5 separate regions of the Homo sapiens genome follow, and regions 2, 3, 4 and 5 are each linked to region 1. Evidence: promoter capture Hi-C in 16 types of primary human blood cells and fetal thymus (Javierre and others, 2016). All regions are on one chromosome and are shown on one strand. The core of a region is centred on a gene start or on the middle of the fragment in contact, and the rest is flanking DNA. Distances in the headings are between cores, read along the strand shown.

Region 1 (3,693 bases), core at 330-2,829:
ATAAACTGGCACTGTAATGTGTACATCATTGTCTAGGTTAGTTTGAACTGGGTTCCTCAAGTCTGGGCAATACATGACTAGAAGTCTACACATTTGAGCTTCTTAGGTTGGAACTGTGAGAACCAGACACTTTCTCATTGACAACTGCTACAATCATTTCTTGTTTTTCACCTCCCTGTCTTTAACCTGTCCCTAAAATGAAACATGCTAGCTAAACCTAATTTAGGCAGATTCATTTAAACACGAAAATGGCTCATTAAAACCAAAGTAACAGCCTAGAATTTAAACCAAAACATAGGATGTATATTTACACAGCCTCATTTACATTATAGTCTATTCCCCACCCCCACCCCCCCAAAAACAAAACAAAACAAAACTGATATTCAAATCGTACTTTAAGGCAAAAATCCAGAAATTATTTTTGCACTTGCATCAGCTGGGAGCATTATTTATAAAGCTGTTTGGCATATGTGACTCATTTATTCCAAGACTTTAAAAAGTATTTAAGAGAAATCCCACCTGGTACAGAGCAGGGTAGGAATACTTGCATTTGAAGTGCATAAATTTGGGTCTTCAAATGATAACTTAGACTTTTCGCACGAGTCATTCAAAAGTAATAGTATTATTCCTTCAAAAAAAAAAAATATCTCTTCCACACTCCAAAGCATTCAGGCTCACACTAGACACTCCAGCTCTTCCACTGTGTCCGTTTAAGTATCACTTATGAGGAGAAAATGCACACAAAATTCTCAGTTCGCCTAAAATAAATAAATGTCTACTATCATTCCTAAATCCACAAGGCAGAATTCTCTTAGAACCATGATGCCAAGAACTTCCACCGCAAGTGAAATTGTCTTCGCAATCTCTGTCTCTAGGAGACTGAAAGGCTGCAGAGACGCTTGAGGATCCTGCAGGGAGGCTAGGGCGGCAGACGGAGGGGGCGGAGGTTAGGGGAGAGTCCCACAGAGGAACTGCATTAGAAGGAAAGATTTTGATAACGTCTAAGGGAGAGGCGGTTAGCTACAGGGGGAAAAAAACAGACCTATTTCCATATTATGTACGTTGTAAAGAAAACGCAAAGTGATGAGGGTAAGGAAACGTTGCCAAAAACAAACAAACAAAAACAAAAAAAAATTAACCCTCTGCGGCCGGAGGGTTAAGAGAAGTCGACAAAAGGAGAAGGGGGAGGCGAATAAAGGCCCCAAAGACCAGGAATTGAAAAAAAATACCCGATTTGTGAGCTTGGCCGTGGTCCAGATCTTCTGTCCTGATAAGCAGATGGCAAGAGGAAAGGATCGCAGTTACTCAGGGTGGTAGAGAGTAACGCGTTTACAAGGGTGACGAGCCCTGCACAAGAAGATGTCGCCTCTCTTTCCACCTGCTCCGCTCAGTCCTTTGCCTCTTACTCTAGCACCAGTGGCATTCGGGCAAAACACTGCCAAAGCCTGCACCGCTGGAGGACAGCAAAAGGAAAATACCTGAGTCTCAGTAATCACACGGGCAGCGACAGGAGGAGGAACCGCGGACAACTGGAGCCTGGGCTGGATCCTCACTAGCTCCGGTCAAACCCTAACTCTTACGGGTGGGGCGGGCAACTTCCGCCCAGAGCAAGGAAAGCGTCACATCCGTCAAATGGCTTCACCCCTCCTCCCTTCTCCGCTGTAGCTGCGTTTACAACGTTCTGACTTCCTCTTCCAGGAGACTTTGGCCTAGTCTCAACACCTGACGTGGACTACATAACCCAGCATTCATCACGGCAAGTGGATTTCCGGGTCAAGAGGTCCGCGCTGGGTACATCACCATGGAAGCAATCGGTTTGGTCACGTGGTGCCCTTGGTTACGCCCGGTGGCAGCTGTGGGGTCTAGGGCTCAGACGGGGGCCATTTTGCCAGAGGCTGCCTCCCGGAGTTGGGGGCGGCCTGGCGGCAGGCTGAAGCTGTTCTTTTGCCTCTTCTGCAGCTTGGGGCTTGGAGAGGATCTGGAAGTCTGGGCTCCATCGAGCCCTTTGGAGACGGCAATGGTTTCTTCCAACCACCACCACCTGACAACCCTGCATGGCGGCTGCCCCCTCCGCGCTGCTTCTGCTGCCGCCCTTTCCAGTCCTCTCTACCTATCGGCTCCAGAGCCGCAGTCGTCCTTCCGCCCCAGAGACCGATGATAGTCGAGTTGGGGGCATTATGAGAGGAGAGAAAAACTACTACTTCCGTGGAGCTGCGGGGGACCACGGTTCCTGCCCCACTACAACTTCGCCTCTGGCCTCGGCCCTCTTGATGCCCTCGGAGGCAGTCTCAAGCAGCTGGTCTGAGTCTGGAGGCGGTTTGTCAGGGGGAGATGAAGAGGACACTCGGCTCCTTCAACTCCTCCGCACTGCCCGGGATCCTTCTGAGGCCTTCCAGGCTTTGCAAGCTGCTTTGCCGCGGCGGGGCGGTCGACTTGGCTTCCCCCGACGCAAGGAAGCTTTGTATCGGGCACTGGGCCGAGTGCTTGTGGAAGGAGGTAGTGATGAGAAGCGGCTCTGCTTGCAACTTCTCTCGGACGTTCTCCGGGGTCAGGGGGAGGCAGGCCAGCTTGAAGAGGCCTTTAGCTTAGCACTTTTGCCTCAACTAGTTGTCTCGTTACGGGAAGAGAATCCAGCCCTGCGGAAAGATGCGCTGCAGATCCTTCATATATGTCTGAAACGTAGTCCTGGAGAGGTGCTGAGAACGCTTATACAACAAGGACTGGAAAGTACCGATGCCCGACTTAGAGCTTCCACAGCACTACTGCTTCCCATCTTGCTTACTACTGAGGACTTGTTGCTTGGTCTGGATCTCACCGAGGTGATAATATCCCTAGCCCGAAAGCTTGGTGATCAGGAGACAGAAGAAGAATCTGAGACAGCTTTCTCCGCACTTCAACAAATTGGGGAGCGACTTGGCCAAGACAGGTTTCAATCTTACATTTCTCGTCTGCCCTCTGCCCTGAGGAGACACTACAATCGCCGCCTGGAGTCCCAGTTTGGAAGTCAGGTTCCTTATTATTTGGAACTTGAAGCCTCTGGATTTCCTGAAGATCCCCTTCCCTGTGCAGTGACTCTTTCCAACAGCAATCTTAAATTTGGGATTATTCCTCAGGAGCTGCATTCACGATTATTGGATCAGGAAGACTATAAGAACCGGACCCAGGCCGTCGAAGAACTAAAGCAGGTGCTGGGAAAATTTAACCCTAGTTCTACTCCTCATTCTAGTCTTGTTGGCTTCATTAGTTTGCTATATAATTTGTTAGACGATTCTAACTTCAAAGTGGTGCATGGCACACTTGAAGTCCTGCATTTACTGGTTATTCGCCTTGGAGAGCAGGTACAGCAGTTCTTGGGACCAGTTATAGCAGCTTCTGTCAAAGTGCTGGCGGACAACAAGTTGGTGATCAAACAAGAATACATGAAAATCTTCCTCAAGCTAATGAAGGAAGTAGGACCTCAGCAGGTGCTTTGTTTACTCCTGGAACATCTCAAACATAAGCATTCCAGAGTGAGAGAGGAGGTGGTGAACATTTGCATCTGCTCCCTGCTGACCTATCCTAGTGAGGATTTTGACTTGCCCAAACTGTCCTTTGATCTTGCCCCAGCTCTTGTAGATAGCAAACGCAGGGTACGCCAAGCAGCTTTAGAAGCTTTTGCCGTATTGGCATCATCAATGGGCTCAGGTAAAACCA
Region 2 (3,882 bases), core at 641-3,140, about 15 Mb after region 1:
ATCTTCTAAGGAATTCTGGCCGGGAACAGTGGCTCACGACTGTAATCCCAGCACTTTGGGAGGCCGAGGAGGGTGGATCACGAGGTCAGGAAACCGAGACCATCCTGGCCAACACGGTGAAACCCTGTCTGAACTAAAAATACAAAAAAATTAGCCAGGCGTGGTGGCAGGCGCCTGTAGTCCCAGCTACTCGGGAGGCTGAGGCAGGAGAATGGCATGAACCCGGGAGGCGGAGCTTGCAGTGAGCCGAGATTGTGCCACTGTACTAGCCTGGATGAAAGAGCGAGACTCTGTCTCAAAAAAAAAAAAAAAAAAAAAAAAAAAAGTGAAGGAAACAGAACCTTCCCCAAAGTCATGTTGAGAAAATTAGAGATGGCTTTTTACAACTTTAAAAGCAGCAGCTAAATATTTGCTGAATGCCAGAAAGAATAAATAGGTTGCTTTTGATCTAAGAGTTGGGGCAACAAAATGGTTTAGGAGATAGAAAGTAGTAGGGTGCAAATTGCTATAGTGAGCTCCTCAAGTAAAATAGAGAGGCCTTCAACATAAATTTACCTTTTTTACTGGCCAGAACTCAATTTGGCCAGTAAAAGAACCTGCCTTCTACAATGAAGTCTTTGGTTTGTGTGTGCATCAGAACATCTTTTAAAAATACGGACTTTTCTTCTAACTTCTTTTCCTGCGAATGTGGTGTAGGTCAAATTCGTGAACTGGTTAAGCCGCTGACAAGAGAGGGAAGGGCACCCCAGCCAATGGGAACCCGTGCTGGTGATGTACTGCTCCTAGGCTGCGATTCATTGGCTGCCTAGGGTTTGTCATTCTATCCCCGGCGTCTGCAAGCAGCGTGGGTCGGGTTTTCCAGCTAGCTAAACTGGATTTTGGCCGCTGGCACGTGCAGTTTCTATTAACTTTAGCTCATCTCTACCTCTTAATAGAAGCAGCTGTTATGTTTCTGATTATTCTCCTGATTTTGAAAAATCCTGTTCCCTTAACCTACCTCATTGGAGGTCGTTGGAGGTCCCCTGGGACAGAACCACGTGATTATCTAACATGTGCAAATAAATACAATGTGGAATCCCCTGAACTATAGAGGGAAAACCTGCCAGAAACTCAGAGCATGTGCCCCGTGCGTGAATCAGTTGCACTCGCACATTGGTGGGCGGTGGTAGCGTGCTTGTGTCTCTGCCCTTTGGGTCGCGAGGTGTGTGGCCGTGGCACCTGCTTGGGCTTCCTGGGGTCACTGGGAGAGGAAGGCTCTGGAGGAGTGGGACTCTGGGGTAGGGGGGTCTGGCAGCTGCCTGGGACCCACCATGGGTTCGAAGGGCAGCGGCCAGACCGCGACGGCGCCCAAGAAGGGTGGACAGCTTCGGGTCTGTGCTCGGGGCTGCGTGTACACCATCTTCGCAGGGAGTGGGGTTTGTATCTGCAGGCAGGTAGAAGAGCCAGGGCTCCGGGCGCGGACGCCGTAGGGGTAGCTTCCGAGTCCCTACTTGGCCAAGGGCCGGCACGGAGGGGCTGTCGATCTACTGGGCACCTAATAGCCGCACATTCTGTCCAGTCCCTGGCGCCGGAACGTGAAGGCCCGGGTCCTGGCTGCTATCCGGGATCCGGACGCTCCCTTCGGCTTCGGCCTGGTGCTCCAGGCCGTAAGGCAAAGGCGGCGGCAGCAGCAGCGGCAGAGAAAGAAGCTGGGTAAGGCAGTGACGTCATCTGTGGCGGCCCCTCCCCCGCCCGCCAGCCCTCACCGCAGTTCCTGCCCAACGACATCCGGGTCTCTGTAGCTGCGCGCCGCGCCGCAGCTGTAGCGGCGGCGGAGCCAGCGGGGCGGGGCGAGCGGAGGGGTGGGGGAGGGGCGACGCGGTCGTGAGCGCGCCTGCGCGGGGCCGCGCTAGAGGCGGCGGCGGCGGCGGTGGCGGCGCTAGGGACGGGAGCGCGCGCGGGAGCTAGAGAGCAGTGGTCTCGGCGCTCGTCCGGCCCGCAGCTTCGGGTCCTCAGGCGGCTGTTGCTCCGGAACGGGTGGTTGGGGAGGGGGGGGTGGGGGGACTCTAGACAGCTGAGGCGCGAAAGCGATGAGTCCTCGGCTCTTCCTCCTCCTTCTCCGGGACCCGCTCTCTGCCTCCCTCTCCAACGCCCGGATGATCTGAGCCGCGAGGGCGCCGACAGCCGGGGGCCCGGACGCAGCCCGGCTCCTCCCCTCCTCCGCCCCTTCCCCAGCCTGACCTGGCCCGCCGCTGCAGCGGTGACCCCTCCCCCGGCTGCCGCCGTCGCCGCCGCGGTGACCCCCTCCCCGGCTGCCGCCGCCGCCGCCTCGGCCGACCAGGGACCTGCCCGCCTGCGGCTGCTCCGGGTAAGTGCGGCGCTCGGGCCGACGGCGGGCTGGCGGGCGGTGCGGGCCTGCGCGGCGGCGGCGGCGGGCAGGCCTGGGGCCTGTAAACAAGCCGGGCGTCTGCCCGGGCGCTCCCGGGAGGAGACGCGACAACTCCACCCCCTGGCCGGCCTCCTCCCCCGAGCCGGGCGGCGGACGGCGAGGGGTTAACGCTCGGCGAGGGCGGTGGCGGGGAGGCGGGGGCGGGGTGTTAGTTGCGGTGGCGCGGGGAGGGGGCGCGACCCTCTGGCCGTCCGCGGCCGAGATGGGTGTTTGTGGCGGCGAAGCAGGCGACGGCCGCAGGCCGGCCTGGCCGGAGAGCGGCCTGCAGAACTTTTCCCGAGCGGGGAGGGGGCGTCCCCGCGCCCCCACCCGCTCGGGCGCGCCGCCCCGGCTGTCCTGGGCTTCAGCCCCTGGGAGGGAGGCGGGGAGACTTCCTTTGAACCGGGCTTAGCCTCGAAAAACCTAATTCTGTAGAAATTGCTTAAGGTTTTACAGGGGGCAGGGCTGAGAGACTCCTTCAGAACTCAAGTCAGTGAGTGATGCCTCTAGTTCATTCATTATTAAGGCATCGAACAAATCCATTGAAGTAAATTCCGATTTCTTATCCTTTTAACTACGTAAATCGGGTAAAACTTCTTGATGTTAGAGCTTGGTTGAGGTATGGTTCTGTTCTGCTTGTAGATTTTAAATAAACTTGGAGCCTTTTCTTGAAAGACAGCTGGCTGTGGAGAGCCTTCTACCAACTGCAGTTTTAGATACGTTTTGAAAATTTCATCACCTGAGGTATTTTTCTTCTCTCCTGAAACACCACATGGTACAAATCCACAAAAGTCATGCTTCAGTTGTCCAAGCCATGGGATCTGTGTGCTAGCCCCACCTCCCCGCAAGTTTCCTGCTCATTGGAATAATGAGCTGAATGTGTTTTAAGAAGTGGTTGGAAGAGTATGAGAGATAGGTATCATTTTCTCAAAGGAAATGATTTTGACATTATTGAGAGAAATTAGACATTTTAACAATTGTTTTGTAAAACAGTCTTTTCAAACTTGCACGTTGGGGTTTTAAACACAACCACTTTACATGTGTTGCGCTCCGAAAAGTGGAGGGATTTGTTGAAACACTACTCTGCTGAGACTTAGGGTTCCAGAGCACTTGGGAATTTAGCATAGCTTGGTCCCCAACTCTCTTTGAAACACTTTACTTTTATACTTTTATCTTGCTACATATTGGGCCTTTTCCAAAGATTGTATTTCTGTAACTCCTTATTTTACAAATGAGAAAATTGAAAATAAGGAGATTCTCTATTCTTAGATGCTGCTTTTACTGACTTAATGCTTTCTTTACCAATAAATAATTTGAAGCACAAAGTAACATTTCCTAGTGTTATAGTTTTGTTCTTGTTATGTGTAACTTATATGTATCTGATTAAACTTTCAGTCATGTAAGGATGATTACTTTTAACCTGGAAGTTTACAGCAGTACCACATTATTGAAACTATAATGAACTTCCTGCACAT
Region 3 (3,942 bases), core at 1,268-3,767, about 10 Mb before region 1:
GTGAGCCAAGATGGCGACATTACACTCCAGCCGGGCAACAAGAACAAAACACTGTCTCACACACACACACACAAAGAAAAGAAATCAATCTGAAGTCTTCCTCTGTTCAGGACTTCTAACTCAGAGACAAATTTTCAGACAGGCAGAGGCAAATTTCTCTAAATTTTAGGTTTCTAGGATTGATGATTAAGTTGAATGTAATGTTTAAGCTGTAGAAAGTATGCCTCTTTCCAAAAGCCTGTAGCTGGCCACAGATTAGTTCTGGGTGAAGCTTACTAATCATTAATGGATTTATGAAATTCAAACTACTTCAGAGTAAGCCTCCTGACAAGTAGGGAAAAAAATCCAGTTTTCTCATTCAGTTCTTTCCACCAAGCTAAAATGAGGATTCAATCTCAAATTGATGTTCCAAACTATCAGATAGTTTTAAATGATTCTAGAAGTTGAAGTGGAAAAATATAAATACAACAGCTGATAGTAATTCAAGACTGGCTTATGTCAAACAATTGCATTTCTAACCTGAGTTAATTCAATAACGTGAAATTTGAAATAAGATTTTTTTATCTTAAGTTTAAAATCATAAGGTTCTATAATATTGGATGTCAGTTGGTTGCAGTTCTCACCTATTTGAAAAAAAAATTGAAACTACTTGTCGCTAAACCATGGTAACTCAAAAACATTAAAGGCAAATATCTACTAAGGCACTATATTTCATTTCATAATTTATTTCTCCATCCCCCAAAAAAGGCATCACCTAGTTATTTATAGGACACTATCACTATTGCAACATAACAGAAAAATCTTAACATCATTGATAACTGTAGCATTTTAGTGTGTAAAATCTATATTAGATTTTAGGTGTCAAATCTATACTAGATTCTAATAGTGCACTCTACATTCAACCTCTGATTTAAAGAGTTTCATTTTAACCCAGCATTGTTTAAATTAATTTTAGGATGTGTTATGTCAGTCAAGATATACTTGCTTCTACTGAGAGACTTCTATTAAATATGCATTCAAGTATATATTTTACAAGGCATGACCTTGCGAGCCCTAAAGAGTGAGACTAAACTGCAGCTACAAATAAATGGTGCAGGAAATCAAAGCAAACTATATTCAGAGTCTAAATCCAAAATATGCATTCTGGTTCTTAAATTCCAGGTTTGGAAAGAAATGCCAACAGTAATAAATAAATAAACTGCTTTGAAAGCATCTCAAATTCCTCAAAAGTGCTTAAACAAAAGACTCAGCTTTGAGTACAACCTTAAGCTATCTCAAAACAAATAAACACACTTGATAAGGCTTAGAATGAAATTACCTCAGTCACTCACTGGAATGCAACAATGCATTCGCAAAGTTATTCTGAAGTAAGCTACTCCAACTAAACCACACTGAAAAGGAGAGAACGTGGATAAACTAAACATGTTTTGTGAAATACCTGTTTTGTATTGGCCTGAGTTTTTTAAAAGTTACATCTCATTCATTATCAGTATTTAATCTGCAAGAATATCATCAAAGGATGTCAATATGGACAAGCAGAGACAAGAAACATCAGACTTTCAGGGAGCCTATCTTCACAACCCTGAGTTATTAACTGAAGTTCTCAAAGTTAGATGAGTTAAGATACAGACAACGTGCTTTGCACAAATGCTTTGCTTATAGTAACCACTCAATAGTCATTAACAAGAATTTATTAACTATCCACCAAAACACAGTTTCAAACCCTACCGACAACTAACCACAAATTGCACCACTTTTCGGGCCGACTTCTACGGACGGTGCACAGAAGCAATAAATACACTTTTAAAACTCCCCAACTTGAAGACCAAAAAGATACAATAACTTAAACTGCTTTCAAAAACTACTGGAGTGTCATGCCTACAAATTCAGAACCTGGCTTAAAAGCTAGTTAACTGACTAGAATTCTTGGTAGACCCAAAGCCAACTAAATCAGGAACACTTAAAGGTCAAAGGCGTCCAAGCCGGGAGCGATGTGCTCCACTGTTACATGATCCCCGCCTCCTACAGGAACAGGGGACTGAACCAAAGGCAGTTGCGGCCGAAGTGCAGGCGACACACAGGGTTACACATCACCTTCGGAGATTTCCTCCAGGAATCAAGACGCTTCCCCCTTGGGTCCAGCGACTCACAGGTGACCCCGGATCTCAAGAGTTCTCGTCTCCCCCACCCCCCACTTAACCCCGCGAGCGCCGCCCTCGGCCCCCAGACCTCCCCCTGCACCCCCGGCTTCCGCGCACAGGACCGGCGGGGCCGCCGCTCCAGCCTCCACCCCAGGCCCGGGGCCTGGGGAAATGCGGCCCCGCGGCCCGCGCCCCCAGCCCGGCCCCCGCGCGCGCGGCCGGGACAGGATACTGAACACCGTCCGCTCCCAGGGCTCCAGCATGTAGAGCGCCGTGACCAGCAGGTACTGGTAGTAGAACCAGGACATCTGCTTCCAGGCCCGCGCCAGCGCCATCCCCGCCATGCGCCTCCCGCGATGCAGCTCACACGTCAGTCTGTCCGGCCGGCCGCCCGCTCACGTCCTAAAGCCCCCGGCCGCCAGGCCCGCCCGCCCGCCACCCAGCGCCCATTGGCCCGCCCGGCCCCGCCGTCACCCGCGGCACGCCCAGACCCGCGCGCGCCCCGGCCGCCGGCCCCCAGCCCCGCCCGACCCGCGCTCATTGGCCAGGCCGCTACCTCGCGTCGCGTCGTCCCCTCCCGTTTCCCCGCCCGGGCATCGCCCACGCTAGCCGGAGAACGGTCCCCGCGAGAGCGCCCAGCCGCGCCCCACCCCGCCCGGGCCGGCCGGTGGTGGGCGGGGCGTCAGTGCCGGCCGGGGTCCCGGGGCCCCCGCAGCCCAGCGGGCGCTCGGTCCGTCCAGACTGGCCCAGAGCGCTTGCGGAAGAAATATTTCTGGAACACTTGTTATGCCTCAGGCATCCTTCTGAGAAGGAGGATTGCCAGGGAGAACCGGAATGCCTTCGGTTCCTTACCTTGTGCAGCTGGCGGCCTAGCTGGGAGACAAGCATTAATCAAGTCGTGATCCGTGTAAGAGGAGATAAGGGGCTGAGAGAGGGTGAGGAGGCGAACGCCACCTAATAAGGAGGTCTGGAAAGGCGTCCTTGTAGAAGGGATGCACATTCGGCCTCCTTCCTCCCTTCCCCCACCCATGCACACACACACACACACACACACACACACACACACACACACACACACCCCTAGACGGACATAACCCATGCACTCCCTAACCCAGAGACCACTTACCAAAAACATCTATCTGCCCACCTCTTAGTGGCTGTAGGTAACCACCAAGTGGGTCAAGGCCAGAAGCGCGCTGATCTAGTGGGTTCTGCAGAAGACAGGCAGCTTGAGATTGGTGTGAGGGCTGGTGATACTTCCCTAGAGATGCACTCCTGGATGCCCAGATTTTCCCACTGCCAGATGGGCCAGCAACATTGCACTGGCCACAAGGAGCTCCATGCACTGGTGTAGCATGTGAACTGCCACAATTAAATGGCCTGCTGTTTAAATGTTAAAAGTCTTCCAGGTTAAACATACTACTGCTTAAACTTTAAAAGTTTCATGGTTAATAACTATTCATTAAAAGTACCAAGTGCCGGCCAAGCGCCGTAGCTCATGCCTGTAATCCAAGCACTTTGGGAGGCTGAGGCTGGCGGATCACTTGAGTCCAGAAGGTCGAGACCAGCCTGAGCAACATGGTGAAACCCCGTCTCTACCAAAAAAAATAAGTAAATACATAACAAAAAGTTAGCCAGGGGTGGTGGCGTGCACCTGTAGTCCCAGCTACTCAGGAGGTTGAGGCGGGAGGATTGCTCGAGCACGGGAGGTCGAGGTTGCAGTGAGCCAGGATGGTGCCACTGCACTCCATCTTAGGTGGCAGAGCAAAAGAAAGGAAAGAAAGGAGACAGAGAAAGAGAG
Region 4 (3,650 bases), core at 602-3,101, about 13 Mb after region 1:
GGCCATACAGAAAGGCTGTGCCAAGTTTCTCTAGGTAGGCCATCTTGGCTGAAAGCTAATTAGTAAGAATCTTTGTTGTGAAACAGTAACTCAGCAGCTGCAGGCATCTTCTCTAAAATGGTCTGACTTGGTACAATGTAACTGTCATTAAATTTGGCACTGTTAAACTCAATGCCGTGGTTCAGTGGCTGCTTCAGTTCTTCCAAGCAATGGAACATAAAAGGTAGTCTAAATTCCTGTAATAAGTAGGAACAAGTGAAATGCTTAAGGGGATCCTACTTAGAGTGTTTATGAAGGCTTGTAGAATTTTAGTGAGTAACACTTTTCATACCTCTTCAGGTTTTACTTCTCTTGTTGTGAAGTCTTTAACACAGTCCAAAAAGCAGGTCTCTGTAAGTTTATTGTAGGTCCCCAGAAATTCCTTAAACTACAAACAAACCAGAATGTTCTTTAGTATTTGGTTTTTAAAACAAAGATGCTTTGAAACTTAAATTACTGGTATTTTATATTTAGACAAAATATACTATAACACTTGAAATCATAGTTATTATGCTAACTTAAATGGGTACAGTATGATCTACAGAATAGTTTTATTTTCTAGTTGAATATTTAATTTTTCCTTGATTATCAGTCAGATTAAAAATACATATGCTTGGCCGGGTGCGGTAGCTCATGCCTGTAATCCCAGCACTTTGGGAGGCCGAGGTGGGCGGATTACCTGAGGTCAGGAGTTCGAGACCAGCCTGGCCAACATGGTGAAACCCTGTCTCTAATAAAAATACAAAAATTAGCCAGGCGTGGTGGCGCATGCCTGTAATCCCAGCTACTCAGGAGGCTGAGGCAGGAGAATTGCTTGGGCCCGGGAGATGGAGGTTGCAGTGAACCAAGATCGTGCCACTGCACTCCAGCCTGGCCGACAAAGAGAGACTGTGTCCAAAAAAAAAAAGAACAAGAAAAATACGTACACTTTATAACATTTAATATCCATTTTGGAAATGAAATAGAAACAATTGTTTTGTGAAACCACTGACATGGTTTTTTTTTTTGAGATGGAGTCTTGCTCTGTCACCCAGGCTGGAGTGCAATGCCACGATCTCGGCTCACTGCAGCCTCTGCTTCCTGGGTCAAGCAATTCCTGTGCCTCAGCCTCCCACGTAGCTGGGACTAGAGGTGTGCGCCAGCACGCCCAGCTAATTTTTGTATTTTTAGGAGACGGAGTTTCACCATGTTGGCCAGGCTGGTCTTGAACTCCTGACTTCATGTGATCCACCCACCTGGGCCTCCCAACGTGCTGGGATTACAGATGTGAGCCACTGCACCCAGCCTGACATGGTGGCATTAGTAGCACCTTACATTTTTTTGCAAAATCTTTTCCCCTTAATTAGAATACCTTACCTGTTTTATCTGATCAGATTCTGGTATTTGTGCAGCCATATTCTTCTGGTACCTTTATTAGTCACCTAATTTAAAAATTCAAAACAAGTTTGTCAATCTATAAACAAATGTTTTTAGTCTAACTGAAGAGTTAGGGAATCACTGCTCGTATTTTATAAATCTGTGTATGTAATTGTATGCCACCACCCCCAATTTCTCAGATCATTAATGACCATAGAACCTTACAGTTGAGAATTAGATTTTCTTTTTTTTTTTGAGACGGAGTCTCACTCTGTCACCAGGCTGGAGCGCAGTGGCGCCATCTTGGCTCACTGCAACCTCTGCCTCCGGGTTCAAGCAATTCTCCTGCCTCAGCCTCCTGAGTAGCTAGGACTACAGGCACACACCACCATGCCCAGCTAATTTTTGTATTTTTAGTAGAGATGGGGTTTCACCATGTTGGCAAGGATGGTCTCGATCTCTTAACCTCATGATCCGCCTGCCTCGGCTTCCCAAAGTGCTGGGATTACAGGCGTTAGCCGCCGTGCCCGGCCAGAGAATTAGATTTTCTAATGCTAGTTTGGGACTCAAAGGCCCTGTCTATCAAAATCTCCAGTTTTAAGATAGTTTGCTCTGCTACCTTGCTAAGCTGCTTGTTTAAAGCCCCATTCCTAGGAGGGTTATAAAGGAAACCAAGATGGTGAAGTTTGGGCTTAAAAAAATAATTAAAAAAAGCTGGGTGTGGTGGCTCATGCCTGTAATCCCAGCACTTTGGGAGGCCAAGACATGTGGATCACTTGAGGTCAGGAGTTCAAAACCAGCCTGGCCAACATAGTGAAACCCTATCTCTACAAAAAATACAAAAATTGGCCAGACGTGGTGTCATGTGCCTGTGGTCCCAGCTACTTGGGAAGCTGAGGCAGGAGAATCGCTTGAACTCAGGACGTTGAGGTTACAGTGAGCCAAGATCACACCACTGCACTCCAGCCTGGGTGACAAAGTGAGACTCCATCTCAAATAATAATAATAATAATGATAATAAAAAGAAAAATAAAGGAAATCAAGAGATTTTTGCTGTTTTCCTAAAATTACTTAACTATTCCACTAGTCACCAAATTGCTTATTTTAAATTTTTTACTATTATACTCAGTCGAATACATCAAAAATATCAAAGATTTTAACATTTCAACATACAATCACATAAAAAGTATTAATAAGACATTTTACGTTCCTTTTCTGGTAGTAAGTCTTTGATTTTGGTGAGCATTTTACACTTACACCACATCTCAATTTGAATGCTAAATTTTCATCAGAAATACTTGGCCTATATTTAGATTTAATAAAATCTATTGTTGAAAAAGTAGATTCATATATCTGAGCCACTCCAAATACACTTAAAATTAGTTGCTAATTTAACTCTGACCCTTACTACTAATGATCCTTTTACAATGTAAATACAAAGGTTCTATTAATAGTTAACAAACACCAGTTAACAAACACCATTTGCTTAGAAATTGACAACCCTCATGAAGGATATTCAGAGTTTTAAAAGAAAGTTACAGGAATTATACATTCTACTACACATTCTCTAGTTCAAAAAGGGCAATCACAGAGACTAATCAGAGACTTCTAATTATAATCTAACGTGGCGGCAACAGGGAAGGGAAGACAAGTAAATAAAAAAGCCTTTCTGAATTCCTGAGATTTTCACATATCCTAAATGTAGGACTTAGGTTCAGTTAATCTAGATATAAGAATGTGTATAACATTATTTATTTACTATATCCTGGCTAGTTCTAAAAAGGTTGAGCATTTCATATAAAAGATTTGTATTTGTATAGGCTGGGCGTGGTGGCTCACGCCTGTAATCCCAGCACTTTGGGAGGCTGAGGCGGGCAGATTACGAGGTCAGGAGATCGAGACCATCCTGGCTAACACAGTGAAACCCCGTCTTTACTAAAAATACAAAAAATTAGCTGGGCGTGGTGGTGGGCGCCTGGAGTCCTAGCTACTTGGGAGGCTGAGGCAGAAGAATGGCGTGAACCCGGGAGGTGGAGCTTGCAGTGAGCCGAGATTGCACCACTGCACTCCGGCCTGGGTGACAGAGTGAGATTCCGTCTCAGAAAAAAAAAAAAAAAAAAAAAAAAAAAAGGTTTGTATAAAATAAAGCTGTTTGAAACAGAAATTAAACAGCATGTAAAAGGAAAACATGAATCATGTACACTGTAGACTAACATAAATGCTATACATTTTATTTAGTTAAGAGTTTTCTGATA
Region 5 (3,847 bases), core at 1,016-3,515, about 12 Mb after region 1:
GGAAGACTCCCAGAGCCAAATTTAGGGTACCATAGGGCCATGGATCTATGTATTTACTTTCCGTCAATCTGATGTTCTATATCTAATTGAGTGTTCCCTGGCCTCTGTGATGTTCTTCGAATGTGTCAACTTGGCTTGGCTACATTCCTCAGTTTTTCAATCAAACACGAATCTTGGTGTTGCTGTGATGGTATTTTGTAGATATGACTAAAGTTCATAATTAGTTGACTTTTTTTTTTTCTCCAAGCAGAGTCTTGCTCTGTCACCCAGGCTGGAGTGCAGTGGCATGATCTTGGCTTACTGCAGCCTCTGCCTCCCAGTTTCAAGCGATTCTCGTGCCTCAGCCTTTTGGGTAGCGGGAATTACAGGTAAACACCACCACACCTGGCTTTTTTTTTTTTTTTTTTTTTTTTTGTATTTTTAGTATTGATGGGGTTTTGCCATGTTGGCCAGGCTGGTCTCGAACTCCTGGCCTCAAGTGATTCTCCCACCTTAGCCTCCCAAAGTGCTGAGTTTACAGCCATGAGCCACCATGCCCAGCCTCATTTGTCTTCAAAACCGTGAGATTATCATAGTTAATCTGGTAGGCCTGATTCAATCAGTGGAAAGGCCTTAAGAGCAGGGATATGGGTCCCCTGATGAAGAAAAACTTCCAGCTGTGGACAACAGCTTTCTGCCATGCCCAGGAGTTCCAGTCTTCCCTTCCTGATGGCATGTGCTACGGGCTTCAGAGTTACTTAGCCAGCCCTCAAAATTACATTATACAATTCCTTGCAATAAATTGTATCATACATATCTCCTACTAGTTCTGTTTCTCTGGATGAATCCCAAATTATTTACATATTTTTCTGCTTTATGGTTTGTATTATAGTGGCTAACTCTAAGCCATCATAGAATGATGTAGAGCACAAACAATAAATCAATACTCGTTATATGTCTTATTGGTCTGTCTCAGGATCAAGTCCAACGATCACATGTTTACACATCATGTGTAAAGAGAGACATCATGAGGTCTCTCTCTTTATCTCTAACATTTTCTATCTTCAACCCTTCTCTTCTGTCCTCCTCAGTCCCATCCTCTCCAATAACCTGTACATCTTTACTTCATCACTATGTCTCTCCAAATACTCCCTTGAGTTACAAACAAAACAAGACATTCAAAAATCTTCATTTGACACTTCGATCCCTGTGAATTTTCATGCTATTTCTCTCTTTCCCTTCACTGCCAAACTTTTTGCAAATGTATTTTATTTTCATGTCTTCCATTTGCTCACTTCTTAGCCCACTAGTACCTTGTTTCTGTAGATACTACTCTACTGAAGCTGACCTCTTGAACTTTCAAGGTTCAAATACCTCCAGGTCACCAAATCCAACCATGCAGAGCCTGCTAGTTGCCCCTCAGTATCCATTCTCCCCTTCTTCCTTTGTAATAGAATTCTAGGCAAACTGTCCAGCTGAAAAGTCTATTTCGCAGCATCCTTTGCCCCTAGGAGTGACCTGTTATTCAATTTTGGCCAATTAGATATAGCAAAATTGTGGAATAGCATTTAAAAAAATAGTGCTTTTTTAAAAAAGCTGGAGCAGGCCTTTCTCTTCCCATCCTTTCTTTTTCTTCCTCAAGAACAGATGTAATGTCTGGAGCATTAGCAGCCACCTTGGATCAGTAGATGACCTTGAGAATGTGAGCTGAGTGGGATGGTGCAGAAAGATATGAGGACTTCAGCTGTGTCCCTAGTGGAATCAGGGAGTTGCCAAGCCAGTGGTAGACTGACTTCCTATAGACTTCTGACTTCTTTTATATAAGAGAATGATTGTTTTAATGTTTAAGACACTGTAGCAGGATCTGTCACTAGTAGCTAAATGCAATCCCTAACGGATATGCCAGTGATCTCTGATTGTTCATGTATTCATTTATTACATAAATATTTGTTTAGCACCAATTTTGTGCCAGGCATCATTTTAAATATGGTGGAAATTAGACAAAGTCCATCAGGTTTGACAGGCTATTTAGACATAGAAATGGAGAGGTCGGGGGCAGTTGGGTTTTTTAAAATAATCGGTCGCTAAAAAAGAGAAGCAGAGGAGGTCTAATTTTGAGAAATATTGCCCCATAGTTGCCCTTTAAAGCTTCAATATGATCATCTCGGGAAAGAAGACAGAAAGAGAGAAAAGTCTAGAACAGCCCAGGAATACTTCAGCATTTGGGGGACCGACAGAAGCAGAGCCAGGGCAGGGAGGCCATTGATAAAAGGAAAACCAAAGAGTGTGCTATCAATGAAGGCCAGAAAAGAAAATACTTCCGGGGAGGAAGGAATAGTCAGATGCTTACTGAGAGGTAGAGTCAGACATAAACAGAGAACTGGAAGTTCTTAATCTTCAAAGGAAAACAACCATGAAGCTAATGAAGCTTAGGCCTCACAGTTCCTCTCTAGCCCAGGTGTCTTCCAATATCTTGTGCCTAATTCTGTATCTGCAGTTTTATATCAGTTTACTTACATATAATTCTCCAAGTTTTATACACTTGAGCTTCACAAAATCTAGACGTGCCTCTCTTCATTGTCCTTTACCTCTCTGTAACATCCTGACCACATGTACTTCATCGACTTTTCTTCTTTAGCTTCTGGTGATGCCTCATTCTCTTACACTGTTCTCTCCCCTTCTCCAGCCATTCCCTAAATGAGAATATGGGCTGACATTAGACCTCAACCTTGTTCTCTCTACACTATCCCCTTATCAAGTTAGTCATTTATATCATCCTTACACGAGCAACTCCTAAATTTGTACTTCCAGCACTGATCTCTACCTCCCAAACATGGACAAAGAATTATTCCCCTCCAAAATAAAAAAATTTTAAATAAAACTCATGAGCAAAAGTGAAATGCATAAAAAGGGAAAGAAGTATATGCTTGACCCAGTCAAGGTTACTCATTGGCATGTTCTTTCAGCAAAGAAATAGAAGACAGCCTATCTTAACTATCTATTGCTGATAACTAACAAATTAGCCTGCATTTATCAACTTAAAACAACATTTATTATCTCGCGGTTTCTATAGGACAGCAGTCTGGATGAGGCTTAGTTAGGTCCTCTGCTTCAGGGTCATCCACAGGCTGCAATCCAAGTCTTGACAGGAGTTATAGTTATCTCAAGGCTTATGTGGGGGAAGGATCCACTTCCTAGCTCCCTCACATGGTGTTGCCTAGATTCAGTTCCTCTAAGGTTGTTGGACTGAAGGTCTCAGTTTCTTGCCAGCTGTTGGCTAGAGGCGGCTCTCAGTTTCTTCCCATGTGGACCTTTCCACAGGGCAGCCTACACCATGGTAGGTGGCTTCATCAGAGAGAACAAGTGAGAGGACAAGAGGGAGTGCCAGCAAGATGAAAGTTAGTCTTTCATAACCTAATCTTGAAAGTGACATCCATCACTTTTGCCTTATTGTATTGATAGAAGCCAATCCTTAGGTTAAGCTCACACATAAGGCGAGCAGCTTATACAGGAAGTGAGTGAGGAGGCAGGGTTATCTGGGAATCCATTTTAGAAGCACTCTACCACACAGCCCCTCTCCTCCAGGAACTCACAGTACAGCTGAGAAATTACCTGGAAAAGGCTGGAAATTGTATAAGTACCTGGAAAAGACTAAGGTGTGCTGGCCCCATGACCGTCAAGGTAGGTATATGTTACTCTATAGTTTAGTCACTGTGTCTCTATCAAATTGCGCGTAACACGTTTGAGATTGTCACTGGTTTTCAGTGTGTCTTTGAGATACATTTTATGCGGGTTGCTCTCCTCCCCGCCCACTCCAGGATAATTGCTTTAATAATAAAACATAAGCTTAAAAAGCTTAACTGCGCTG

Evidence for each region. The method cuts DNA at HindIII sites, captures the fragments that hold promoters and counts their contacts. A CHiCAGO score of 5 or more calls a contact.
Region 2: the fragment with the promoter of PPM1A here is called in contact with the fragment with the promoter of KLHL28 in region 1 in 1 of 17 cell types (activated CD4 T cells); the score reaches 6.2 in activated CD4 T cells.
Region 3: the fragment with the promoter of SPTSSA here is called in contact with the fragment with the promoter of KLHL28 in region 1 in 2 of 17 cell types (total B cells and naive B cells); the score reaches 7.7 in total B cells.
Region 4: a fragment that was not itself captured here is called in contact with the fragment with the promoter of KLHL28 in region 1 in 1 of 17 cell types (naive B cells); the score reaches 6.1 in naive B cells.
Region 5: a contact is called between a fragment that was not itself captured here and the fragment with the promoter of KLHL28 in region 1, in 1 of 17 cell types (total CD4 T cells). The highest score is 6.0, in total CD4 T cells.

Annotation. Positions count from the first base shown.
Region 1 is chr14:44,960,368-44,964,060 of GRCh38, forward strand. It overlaps KLHL28 (kelch like family member 28), which reads right to left and starts at 1,580. Exons shown (of 5, transcript NM_017658.5): 1 at 1,479-1,580. TOGARAM1 (TOG array regulator of axonemal microtubules 1) reads left to right here and starts at 1,823. Exons shown (of 20, transcript NM_001308120.2): 1 at 1,823-3,693. The coding sequence starts at 2,055. RefSeq lists enhancers at 647-736, 1,251-1,765, 1,307-2,116, 1,766-2,280. The HindIII fragment of the contact is 5,188 bases long and covers 1-2,455 here.
Region 2 is chr14:60,247,331-60,251,212 of GRCh38, forward strand. PPM1A (protein phosphatase, Mg2+/Mn2+ dependent 1A) reads left to right here and starts at 1,891. Exons shown (of 6, transcript NM_021003.5): 1 at 1,891-2,347. RefSeq lists enhancers at 445-694, 1,237-1,965, 1,275-1,324, 1,385-1,734 and silencers at 1,835-1,934, 2,135-2,874. The HindIII fragment of the contact is 6,782 bases long and covers 1-3,882 here.
Region 3 is chr14:34,459,723-34,463,664 of GRCh38, forward strand. It overlaps SPTSSA (serine palmitoyltransferase small subunit A), which reads right to left and starts at 2,518. Exons shown (of 2, transcript NM_138288.4): 1 at 2,374-2,518. The coding sequence starts at 2,485. RefSeq lists enhancers at 1,731-1,840, 2,381-3,331 and silencers at 2,241-2,410, 2,531-3,040. The HindIII fragment of the contact is 5,560 bases long and covers 270-3,942 here.
Region 4 is chr14:58,410,512-58,414,161 of GRCh38, forward strand. TIMM9 (translocase of inner mitochondrial membrane 9) reads right to left here. Exons shown (of 6, transcript NM_012460.4): 4 at 1,396-1,460; 5 at 332-427. The coding sequence starts at 1,434. It also overlaps a transcript of TOMM20L not described here. Among named protein-coding and RNA genes, the nearest start is that of TIMM9, 15 kb to the right of the region's middle. The HindIII fragment of the contact is 3,775 bases long and covers 1-3,650 here.
Region 5 is chr14:56,575,165-56,579,011 of GRCh38, forward strand. No RefSeq gene overlaps it. Among named protein-coding and RNA genes, the nearest start is that of TMEM260, 2.7 kb to the right of the region's middle. The HindIII fragment of the contact is 280 bases long and covers 2,126-2,405 here.